2 separate regions of the Homo sapiens genome follow, and region 1 is linked to region 2. The links are contacts of gene promoters, found by promoter capture Hi-C in human tissues and cell types (Jung and others, 2019). All regions are on one chromosome and are shown on one strand. The core of a region is centred on a gene start or on the middle of the fragment in contact, and the rest is flanking DNA. Distances in the headings are between cores, read along the strand shown.

The links. Contacts are between HindIII fragments. The study calls those that stand out against the background at their distance.
Region 1: a contact is called between a fragment that was not itself captured here and the fragment with the promoter of SLC10A7 in region 2, in 1 of the 25 tissues and cell types used here (H1 embryonic stem cells).

Annotation. Positions count from the first base shown.
Region 1 is chr4:147,108,250-147,114,114 of GRCh38, reverse strand. No RefSeq gene overlaps it. Among named protein-coding and RNA genes, the nearest start is that of TTC29, 170 kb to the right of the region's middle. The HindIII fragment of the contact is 3,475 bases long and covers 2,457-5,865 here.
Region 2 is chr4:146,518,917-146,524,563 of GRCh38, reverse strand. SLC10A7 (solute carrier family 10 member 7) reads left to right here and starts at 2,624. Exons shown (of 12, transcript NM_001029998.6): 1 at 2,624-2,946. The coding sequence starts at 2,847. RefSeq lists enhancers at 1,777-1,856, 2,027-2,446, 2,457-2,536, 2,757-2,826, 3,267-3,496. The HindIII fragment of the contact is 10,684 bases long and covers 1-5,265 here.

The DNA of each region.
Region 1 (5,865 bases), core at 2,945-5,444, 590 kb before region 2:
ACATTTAAGGTTAATATTGTTATGTGTGAATTTGATCCTGTCATTATGATGTTAGCTGGTTATTTTGCCCATTAATTGATGCAGTTTCTTCATAGTGTCTACGGTCTTCACAATTTGGTATGTTTTTGCAGTGGCTGGTACTGGTTGTTCTTTCCATGTTTAGTGTTTCCTTCAGGAGCTGTTGTAAGGCAGGCCTGGTGGTGACAAAATCTCTCAGCATTTGCTTGTCTGTAAAGGATTTTATTTCTCCTTCACTTATGAAGCTTAGTTTGGCTGAATATGAAATTCTGGGTTGAAAATTCTTTTCTTTAAGAATGTTGAATATTGGCCCCCACTCTCTTCTGGCTTGTAGGGTTTCTGCCGAGAGATCAGCTGTTAGTCTGATGGGCTTCCCTTTGTGGGTAACCCGACCTTTCTCTCTGGCTGCCCTTAACATTTTTTCCTTCATTCCAACCTTGGCAAATCTGATGATTATGTGTCTTGGGGTTGCTTTTCTTGAGGAGTATCTTTGTGATGTTCTCTGTATTTCCTGAATTTGAATGTTGGCCTGCCTTGCTATGTTGGGGAAGTTCTAGATAATATCCTGCAGAGTGTTTTCCAACTTGGTTCCATTCTCCCCGTCACTTTCAGGCACACCAATCCGACATAGATTTGGTCTTTTCACATAGTCCCATATTTCTTGGAGGCTTTGTTTGTTTCCTTTTACTCTTTTTTCTCTAAACTTGTCTTCTCACTTTATTTCATTAATTTGATCTTCAATCACTGTTACCTTTTCTTCCACTTGATCGAATCTGCTATTGAAGCTTGTGCAGGCATCATGAAGTTCTTGTGCTATGGTTTTCAGCTCCATTAGGTCATTTAAGGTCTTCTCTATACTGTTTATTTTAGTCAGCCATTCATCTAACCTTTTTTTCAAGGTTTTTAGCTTCCTTGCAATGGGTTAGAACATGCTCCTTTAGCTCAGAGAAGTTTGTTATTACTGACTTTCTGAAGCCTACTTGTGTCAACTCATCAAAGTCATTCTCCATCTAGCTTTGTTCTGTAGCTGGCGAGGAGCTGTGATCCTTTGGAGGAGAAGAGGCACTCTGGTTTTTAGAATTTTCAGCTTTTCTGTTCTGGTTTCTCCCCATCTTTGCAGTTTTATCTACCTTTGGTCTTTGATGTTGGTGACCTACAGATGGAGTCTTGGTATAGATGTCCTTTTTGTTGATGTTAATGCTATTCCTTTCTGTTTGTTAGTTTTTCTTCTAACAGTCAGATCCCTCAGCTGCAGGTCTGTTGGAGTTTGCTGGAGGTCTGCTCCAGACCCTGTTTGCCTGGGTATCACCAATGGAGGCTGAAGAACAGCAAATGTTGCAGAACAGTAAATATTGCTGCCTGATCCTTCCTCTGGAAGCTTCATCCCAGAGGGTCACCCGCCTATATGAGGTGTCTGTCGGCCCCTACTGGGAGGTGTCTCCCAGTTATGCTACACAGGGGTCGGGGATCCACTTGAGGAGGCAGTCTGTCTGTTCTCAGAGATCAAACACCGTGCTGGGAGAACCACTGCTCTTTTCAGAGCTGTCAGGGAGGTTTAAGTCTGCAGAAGTCTACTGCCTTTTGTTCAGCTATGCCCTACCCACAGAGGTGGAGTCTATAGAGGCAGTAGGCCTTGCTGAACTGCGGTGGGCTCCACCCTGTTCAAGCTTCCTGGCTGCTTCGTTCACCTACTCAAACCTCAGCAATGGCAGATGTCCCTCCCCCAGCCAGGCTGCCGCCTCACAGTTCAATCTCAGACTGCTGTGCTAGCAGTGAGCAAGGCTCCGTGGGTGTGGGACCCACTGAGCCAGGAACGGGAGAGAATCTCCTTGTCTGCTGGTTGCTAAGACCTTGGGAAAAGTGTAGTATTTGGGTGAAATTGTCCTGTTTTTCCAAGTACAGTCTGTCATGGCTTCCCTTGGCTAGGAAAGGGAAATCCCCAGATCCCTTGCACTTCCCGGGTGAGGCGACACCCCACCCTGCTTTGGCTCACCCTCTATGGGATGCACCCACTGTCCAACCAGTCCCAATAAGATGAACCAGGTATCTCAGTTGGAAATGCAGAAATCACCCATCTTCTATGTTGATCACGCTGGGAGCTGCAGACCAAAGCTGTTCCTATTTGGCCACCTTGGAAAGGAGGTGAATCCTGACATTCTTTTGGAAATGTTCTGAAATGATTTCTTTTTCTTCATCTTAGATATAGAATTGGTGGGGGGGGGGCGGGATATGAGCAAGAATGAAATAATGGGTACTGTGTTCCTGGCTTTAGAGAATTATCTTTAAATAAAAATACAACATGAAAGTCCTGATTTATTTTTATTTCTTTTATGTTTGAGATGAAGTTTTGCTCTTGTTGCCCAGGTTGGAGTGCAGTGGGGCAATCTCGGCTCACTGTAACCTCTGCCTTCCAGGTTCAAGCGATTTTCCTGCCTCAGCCTCCCGAGCAGCTGGGATTATAGATGCACACTATCACACCCGGATAATTTTTGTATTTTTGGTAGAGATGGGTTTTTACCGTATTGGCCAGGCTGGTCTTGAACTCCTGAACTCAGGTGGTGCACCTGCCTCGGCCTCCCAAAGTGCCAGGATTATAGGCGTGAGCCACTGCACCTGGCCAGAAAGTCCTGATTTAAATAATAAAGTTCAAGAGTGTGTCCTCTGCCATCCTCGATTTACTAGCTTGCTCTGCTTTAGTGTATCCATCTCTAAAATGGGAATATTATTACTTACAGTTATAAATAGCTGTAACAGAGCATACAGTAATGGTCCTTGAGCTTCTCAGTGTCAGAAGATTCATGTTTTAAACATTTTAAATTCTTCTGCTTATCTATAGCACTCAAGAACATAAAGTGCTTTGAAATAGTCCAATAAAAAGGCCAGGTTTTTTCCTGCTATAGATATGTGGGATGAGGTACATTCAAGTGGTAAATCAGTGACACCCAGTGGCTGCTGCTTTTATATTTAGTTTTTAAATTTTCAATTTAACTTTCTAAAGTTCTGTCCCAAAACAAATGAAAGAAGATGATGAGAGCATGGAAGTTATAGATGCCTTTAAAGAAAGAGTTTCTCAGCAGTGATATGATTTTCCTAGGACATGAGAGCTATTGAATAGCAATACCAAAAATAGAGAGAGTGCAGGACAGTGGAAAACGGTTCTGGGAATTTCCAGCCCCATCATTTGCATGCTATTAAAGAGTGTACTCAAGCTTTCCTGTCACTGTTGGATTTCCCAAGAAACATTCTCATCCTTGAAGTGGCATGTTAACTGCCCAAATCCAGCGAAATCCTTATGTGTTAGAGACAGTTGGGAACATTCACTGGATATTAGACTTCCTAGGTGTAAGCAAGACTTAACTGGAGGTTTAATCCATAGCCCGCACCAAAACTCCCCTCAGTCGTAATATGACTCGCTGTAACTGCCTCAAATCCCCACACACATGAAGTTGAGTAGATTAGCATAATAGAACATGCCGGGCTCAAATCCCAGCTTGCACACTCTGTGGTTGGAGTCTCTTAAGTCACTTAAACCTCTTGGAGCCCTCAGTTGTCCTTCTGTATAATAAAGAATAAAGGCGATAATACTTAACTCATGGGTTAATAAAAAAATATTAGGTTGGTGCAAAAGTAATTGCGTTTTTTTCTCTTCCTTTCTTCCTTTCTTCCTCTCTTCCTCCCTTACTCCCTTCCTTCCTTCTCTCTCTCTCTTTTTGATGGAGTTTCACTCTTGTTGCCCAGACTGGAGTGCAATGGCACCATCTCACTCACTGCAACCTCCACCTCTTGGGTTCAGGCAATTCTCCTGTCTCAGCCTCCAGAGTAGCTGGGATTACAGGCGCCTGCCACCATGCCCGGCTAATTTTTATATTTTTAGTAGAGACGGGGTTTCACCATGTTGGCCAGGCTGGTCTTGAACTCCTGACCTCAGGTGATGCACCTGCCTCAGCCTTCCAAAGTGCTAGGATTACAGGCGTGAGTTACCATGCTTGGCTTGCCATTATTTCAATGACAAACATCTCAGTAACTTTTGCACCAACCTAATAATACATGTAAAGTGGTGGTCATATTACAGGCACTCATCATTGTCCTGATTTGTATCAGCTGACATTCTCTGTTGACCTAGATGCACAATGGCTGCTGAGCAAAACCCTTCTCTGAAACTGGATGAGTCTATTGCACTTTTTAGGTGTTCTGTGATCTGACTCCTCTCTGAGGTAACAGCTTGGATGGAAATGTACTCATTGTCATTTTTTATAATTAGAGAGTGGGACTATTTTCCATATATGACTAGTGTTGCTAAAGTACTTAGGATTTTCTGGATGAAGGACTCTGGAGAAATACTGTATTTAAAAATTCTTAGCTAATAACTTACATTTTAAGGATTAGTATTTTTTCCACATAAAACATTAAAGAAGTTTTAATAGCACAGAGATATGCTAAGTAAGGCAATTAGGTAACAGAGTTTATTAAAAACTACACAAAGGGTACATTAAAACAAAAGGCTCTAGTGCTTAGTTGCTGCTCCTTTTAATTGCTAGATAAATATCTTCAATAACTAGGTTATTAAACTATATACATAGAAATATGGTAGTAATATTTTTAAAAGATGACCTTTTTCTACATTAGTTAAAAAAGTGGAATGGTTAAGATGCCAGGCCTTGCAGCTAGGTGGACTTGAACTTGAATCTTGGATTTTTCCACTTACTGGTTTACTTAGATTCTTTAAGCTTTAGTTTATATAAACAATATAAAATTATGTAGTTTTATGTCATCGATAGAAGGTTGGGAAGAGTGAAGGAGAGCAAGTATGGGAAATACTTAGTATCTGGCACACAGGAAGCACTCAATATGGAAAGTGGAAAAATAGGAACTGCATAGAACAGAGGCTCTTAACCTTATCTGATTCCAACCCTACATAACAAATATTTATTTATATATTTTTACTTGACAAAAATTGTGTATACCTATGGTATCTAGCATGATGTTTTGATAAATGTGCACATTGTGGAATGGCTAAATCAGGCTCTTTAACATATGCATGACATCACATATGTATTTTTTGTGGTAAGTGCTTGAAGTCTTCTTGCAATTTTCAAGTATACAATATATTGTTATTAACTATAGACACCATGATGTTCAATAGGTCTCTTGAACTCATTCCTCCTGTGTAACTGGAAATTTTGTGTCTGTTGACCAATGTTTCCCCAAATCCTTTCTCCCCCAACAAATAGTTTTATATTTTCTTTTCCCTTTACTATCTTAGAAAGAAATTTTAGAGCTAACACAAGATACTACATTATTTAAATTCGAGCACATTAGAGTGCTCTAATTATAACATAAAGGAGAAATAGAGGAAATTGGCAAATGGTGAAATCATAATATGCATTTCATGATAATTGGCAAATGGTGAACTAATAAGCATTTCAACATAATGCTTGGATACAAATGACACCAGAAGACAAAATACTTGTGCTTCCACAGTCATCCTGAGTATGGCAACTAGCCATGCAGAGCTATCCAGCTATGTGACTCAACAAAAAGTAGAACCTTGGTGACTTTTTCAAATAGGAAAAAACCCTTGGTAATATATCAAACAAGGCATAGTGATATTCCCTCACATATGTGGTAGGTGCATTACTGGGAATTTTATATTGGTTTATACAAACTAAATGTATCGTTTATATTTAAACCATACAGAAGCACCATTAGAGTTAAGGTTCTAAGCTAAAAAAGTTATAATCAGATTTTTTGGCCTACACAAACTTGGGATGGAATGATTTTTCATTGTGGGACTGTCTCCTTCATTACACCATGTTGATAATTCTGGACCCCCATCTACTAAATACC
Region 2 (5,647 bases), core at 1,375-3,874:
TATAGGTTTGCAGCCTAGGAACAATAGGCTATACCATATAGTCTAGGTGTGTTGTACACTACATTATTTAGGTTTGTGTAAGTACACTCTATGATGTTTCTCTAATGATGAAATCGTCTAACCATACATTTCTCAGAATGTAACCCGGTGGTTAAGCAATGCCTGACTGTATTAATTATTGTTCATCTCTTATTGTGCCTAATAATATAAACCAAAAATTATCATCATAGGAATGTATGTATAAGAAAAAATACCATAGCATATATAGATAGGGTTCAGTACAACCAGCAGTTTCAGGCATCTACCTAAGGTTCTTGGAATGTATCCTTTCAGGATAAGGGGGGACTACTGTGATTGAGTTAAGGCTCTTGAGAGATCATTTTGGATTATCTGGGTAGGCCCTAAATCCAATGACAAGTGTCTTTATAAAAGATACACAGAAAAGGAGGTGCAACGTGAAGATGGATGCAGAAACTAGAATAATGTGGCCACTAGAAAGAAATACAGAGGGGAATGTGATGTGAAAACAGTGGCAGAGATTGGAACACTCTAGCTACAAGCCAAGGAAGGCACCACCAGAAACTAGAAAAGGCAAGGAAGGACTCTCCCCTAGAGCCTTCAGCGGGAGTATGGCTCTGCCAAAATCTTGATTTTGGACTTCTGTCCTCCAGAACTGTGAGATAATAAATTTCTGTTGTTTGAAGGCATCCAAGTTCGAGTATTTGTTTCAGCATCCACAGCAAACAAATACAGGCCTTAAGAGAATATAATTCATGGTACATTATATTCTTTTCCTTTAAGTACCATTAAAAACAGAACAAAAAAATCTCTGAGTTAGATTCTGCTCTACACAGATCAAAGAGGTATTAGTAAATAATTTGTGAATAGCTGTACAGTTAAAACAGCTCAATTTCTGTAAACTTAATGTTTAATGATGTTTTAATACAAAACTATCCCTTCAATGACTGAGACGTATGACTCTTTAACCTACTAAGAAATTACTATAAGAAAATAATTATGTTGTAAACTATCTTTCATTTATCTTCACTTATCTTCTGACTGCCTGACAACTAACATCAAATTTTATATTTCATGTACCTGTCTCTTTTCAGAGTAAACTGCTTAATGTCATCTATGTCTCCCTGTTAAGTTCTTTTTATCTTGAAATTAATTTTTTTTCATGTTGCCTGATGTATAATTAGATGACACTTGGTACTGTGTAACCTACAACTGGGAGCACAACTCTTAAAGTGGCTTAGTTTCTGGAAGTCTTGCCATCAAGATAAAGCTAAATTAAATAGAGGAAATGACACGACGAGTGTCTTTCCAGCTTTGAATAAATTCAGAATTAAAGTCTGTCATCACGAAACAATCTCTTCCAAACCTTAAGTTCTATTTTTAACCATTTAAGTGGCAGATGCCAGGTTATTTCAAAATATCACATACTATTTTCTTTCTTTCTTCATTTGGATGAATGATACAGTGGAGTTCATGCTCTTGCAGGGTCTACCGGTAGGAAGTCCATTCATGAAACCATCAATGTCACTGGTTGCCACAAGACATTTCAAGGAAGAAACTGGCAGATAGAACTAGCACTCGTGGCAATGGAAGGTAGGACTCCCCAACCTCTCAGACTCAATCCCCCACCACTTCCGCGTTGGAATCCGCGACCCTCTTCCCAGAGTTTTCCTGTGGCTTGGGTAGGTCAGCCCTGGGGGCGAGCCAGAGCGGGCACCCGCGCGCCCAGGGGCTTGCCAGCGCAGACCCCACTCCGCCCGCGAGTAGCTTAGTTGGTGGGGAGACTTCAGCTGTCACTCTCGGCCCGCAAAGGCAGATCTGCCCCGATCCCTGCAGCCCTCCCCAGTCCCGGAGACAGGTGTGGGCCGCAGAGGGAAGGGGATCCGGACCAAATGCCCACCCGCAGGCGAGCGACCTGGCGAGGTCGGGCCCACCTTCCTTGGGTTGTAGCGGACGCCGGCAAGCAGGGGTCCAGCGAACGTGGGCATCTGCCCGGCGCCGGATTTTCAACCCACCGCCAGAGATAAGGCTCCCCGCCCACCAGCGAGCCACTTTCCCGCGCGGACACCTCTAACTCCGGCAGCTCAGGCTGGGAACTCGGAGATCCAGAGTGGCCTCCCCTCCCCCCCGCGCATACGTCAGCGCTAGCGTCGTGGAAGCGCCGTAATGTCCCGAAGAAGCGCGTCTCCAAACTTGCACCCCGCTGCCGCAGCTTCAACGGAGAAATCCCTTGCCCCAAGCACACGTCAGCCCTGCCCGCGGAGTCATGGCACAGCAAAAGAGAGGCTCTCCATGGAGATATGCTCCAGAAGGGTGGGTGGCTGTGCCTAAAGGTTTGTTAGAAAAGGACAGTCAGTGAGGCTTGCTGGCTGTGGCGCCTTACGACGCTCTCCCCGACCCCTCGTCATTCAGAAGGTTCCGCAGGTCTCGACAGCGGTGCGCTTGTCAGCCCCATCCGGCGGCCAGCCTCCCTTGCCGGATCGCCCACGTTGTCGGCCTGGTCCGAGTTCTTCATTTCAAAGCATCTGCACCTGCGAGCCCGCGGCCAGAGGCGCTGGGGGCGTTTGTGCGCGTGTATTCTGAGGCGCGTGGTAGTGATGGCGGCGCTCAGTGAGACTTTCCTGTCACTGGCTACTACTACTCCCAACCCTCCTCAAAGCCGCCGGAGCAACCCCCAGGTCTTTACTTTACAATCGGCAATTTGACTTGCTCTGCTGCATGTCTGGAGGGACCAAGGAAAGTGTGGAGACGCTCCAAGGATTAGGTGATCGGAGCTTGAAAAGAAAAAAAGCCAAACAAATAAACAAAACCCACCCACCCTAACAAATATGAGGCTGCTGGAGAGAATGAGGAAAGACTGGTTCATGGTCGGAATAGTGCTGGCGATCGCTGGAGCTAAACTGGAGCCGTCCATAGGGGTGAATGGGGGTAAGTGCTGCACCTCTGCCGGCTCCACCGCGGCTCCCACTTCAGAACTAATTTGTGAGTCTTGGAAAGGTGGGGCAACCCTCATTGCAAGCGCTTGCCAATTTCAGGGGGCACTGACCAGCCTTTGGCCCTTTTGCTGATTTTCTAATTTACCAACCCCAGAGGGAACTTGTAATTAGGAACGAGGCAAAGGAATTTGAGGGCAGGTAGCCTTTTCCGTAGACAAACAATGACTATCCTGAGTGTCAAGAAGTGAGGTTACAGAGAATGAAACTTACTCCTCTTGCCTTCAAAGTAGCATCCTATCCCAAGGGAATCTAGGTTGCTAAGAGTTCCGTATCTATCTTGGAGTGGACCTCATTATCGAGTCTACTTTCGAGTCCTCCCCGCCCCCACATTAAAAAAAAAAGTGGAGGAAAAACAAGAAAAGGGACACCTCCGCCCCCAACTCAGATTTTATGGCCCACATGTTGGAGAGTGATGATTTGCTGTAGTTGCTGGTGCTCCAGAAACTCCCAAGCCGACTGACACGTTGCACTCTTTGATTACAGGACACTTCATTACAGCATACTTCCGTGTGCTGCCGGGATTCAGTTGCTATACTAGCAGTCTAACAGATACAGACTGTTAGACTATGTGTAGTGTAGTGTAGTGTGTGTTTTGGCAAGGAAATGTGGATGGACTGAAAGCATACTTAGATCTCTGAATAGTGGGAGCTTTGTACAGGAGATGATGGGCACTGGTGGGAACATTAGAAATATTAGTTTTTTATGCCCCCCCCAACACCTTTAGACAATCTTGTACTACTTTTCATAAACATTAATTGAATTTATTCAATTCGCTTGTCTTTTTGACCTTGTTTGTCAGTTTCCAAGCTTATTGACAGGTTTAATACCTAACTCATGCAACCGGAGCAAATAAGGATAGAGGTGAACAGGCACAATATTTCATAGTAGGAAGCGCTCAGGAGGATATTTGAAGTTATTTTTATCTTTTTGTTAAAACATGATGGAAGTGAATGAAATGATCTCTTAGGAGAACAGCAGTGGTCCCTTCTCCCCTTAACCTCCACCCCATTACTCTGTTTAGAAGTAGCTTCCGGGAACATTTTAAAAGGAATTATTTAAACCAAAATTGTGGAGATGAAGGATTGTTTGTTTTAAAATTTTGTTCTTCTGTATTCAACTTAGAACAAAATGTGTAGAATATGTAACTGTGAGAATAAAGCAGTTATTCCTGGTGGTTTCTCCCTCTGATTGATGGTAATAGTTTCTTCTTTAACACTGCTGCTCTGTGAACTTTTGGGAAACTCTTGTGAAGATCAGGTCTGTCAAATGAAGACCCCCTATCCCCGGAGCTAAATGAATAGTAAGACTTAGAGTACCTTTGCATGATCTGCAATGCACACTTCACTAGCTATCGCTTCTCGTGTTAGATCTCTTATTTGCTCAGTTTTGAGATGAAATTACAGAGGATGTATGATCTTTAACTTTAAATCTGCAGGGGCTAAGTTTGGCAAAATATCTTTTACCTTGCATTCCTAAATATTCTGTGGGAAGAAAGGTGTTGAATGCTGAATCATTTCCGTGGGGCTTTTCTGCAGTGGCATGTATGAGATAGATTCTGCAAACTTATGTGTTCCATAGACTCTGCTTATTAATATTTTGGTACATTATTGTATCATAGAAATGCCATTTCCCATTTCCACTAGTCCTTCTGTCTTTAATGTAGGATAATTCATTCCTTTGTTTAATTATAATAGAATGTTAAGAGGGGGAGGGGAATATTTAAAGTGTTTTAAGCCAACATGCTTCTTTTACAGTTGAAGATACCAGGTGACTCTCTCTAGGTTAAGGTAGCTAGCTTAGGGAAGAGGAACTATTGGAGACCAGGGTATTTAAAATTCCTGGGAAACTTCTACTTCCCAAGCAAGCCAGATTCCTTGACTTTAAAATCTGCTCCTGAATCACCTTGCTTAGCTGCTGAAGAAATATTACCTGTGTGAGCTGCTGAGACAGATTCACTAACAAATATAAAGATAATGTACCTCTTATAAAAGTTTTTGAGCAGCCTTCACTGCCCCCAAATGCAATGCCTTTTGCACTTGCCTTCTCCCTTTCTTTCCCTTTTCTTAGATCTCAGCAAAATGATTTGTGTAAATGCCAGGCATATTAAATAATTTATTACAGCATTTGAGGAAATCTTTGTTTCTTTTATTCATTGTTGTACTACAAATGCCTAAGACATAGTAGGTCATCTCTCTCTATATATAGATAATATTATATATTATGTTAAATAATGTATTATATATTATCATATTATATATTATGTTATATATTGTATATAATATGTTATATATTATATAAAATATATTATTATATATAATATATATTCTCTCTCAGAGGGGCCTTGAGATATTATGTATATTATATATTATGTACATTATTGTATCATATATTATATATTATGTTATATACATAATATATATTAATTATATATTATATTATATATATATATATATATATATATATATATATATATATATATATATGGTGATTTTTCCTGAGCTTGGTCTTCTGTCCATATATCGAACAAGTGGAGGGTTTCAGGCTATGGAGGAGCCGTGATTGTTGTCCTGTTGTTTTGCTTAAGTGAGTGTATTAGTTTCTTAGGGCTGCCACAACAAATTACCATGAACCAG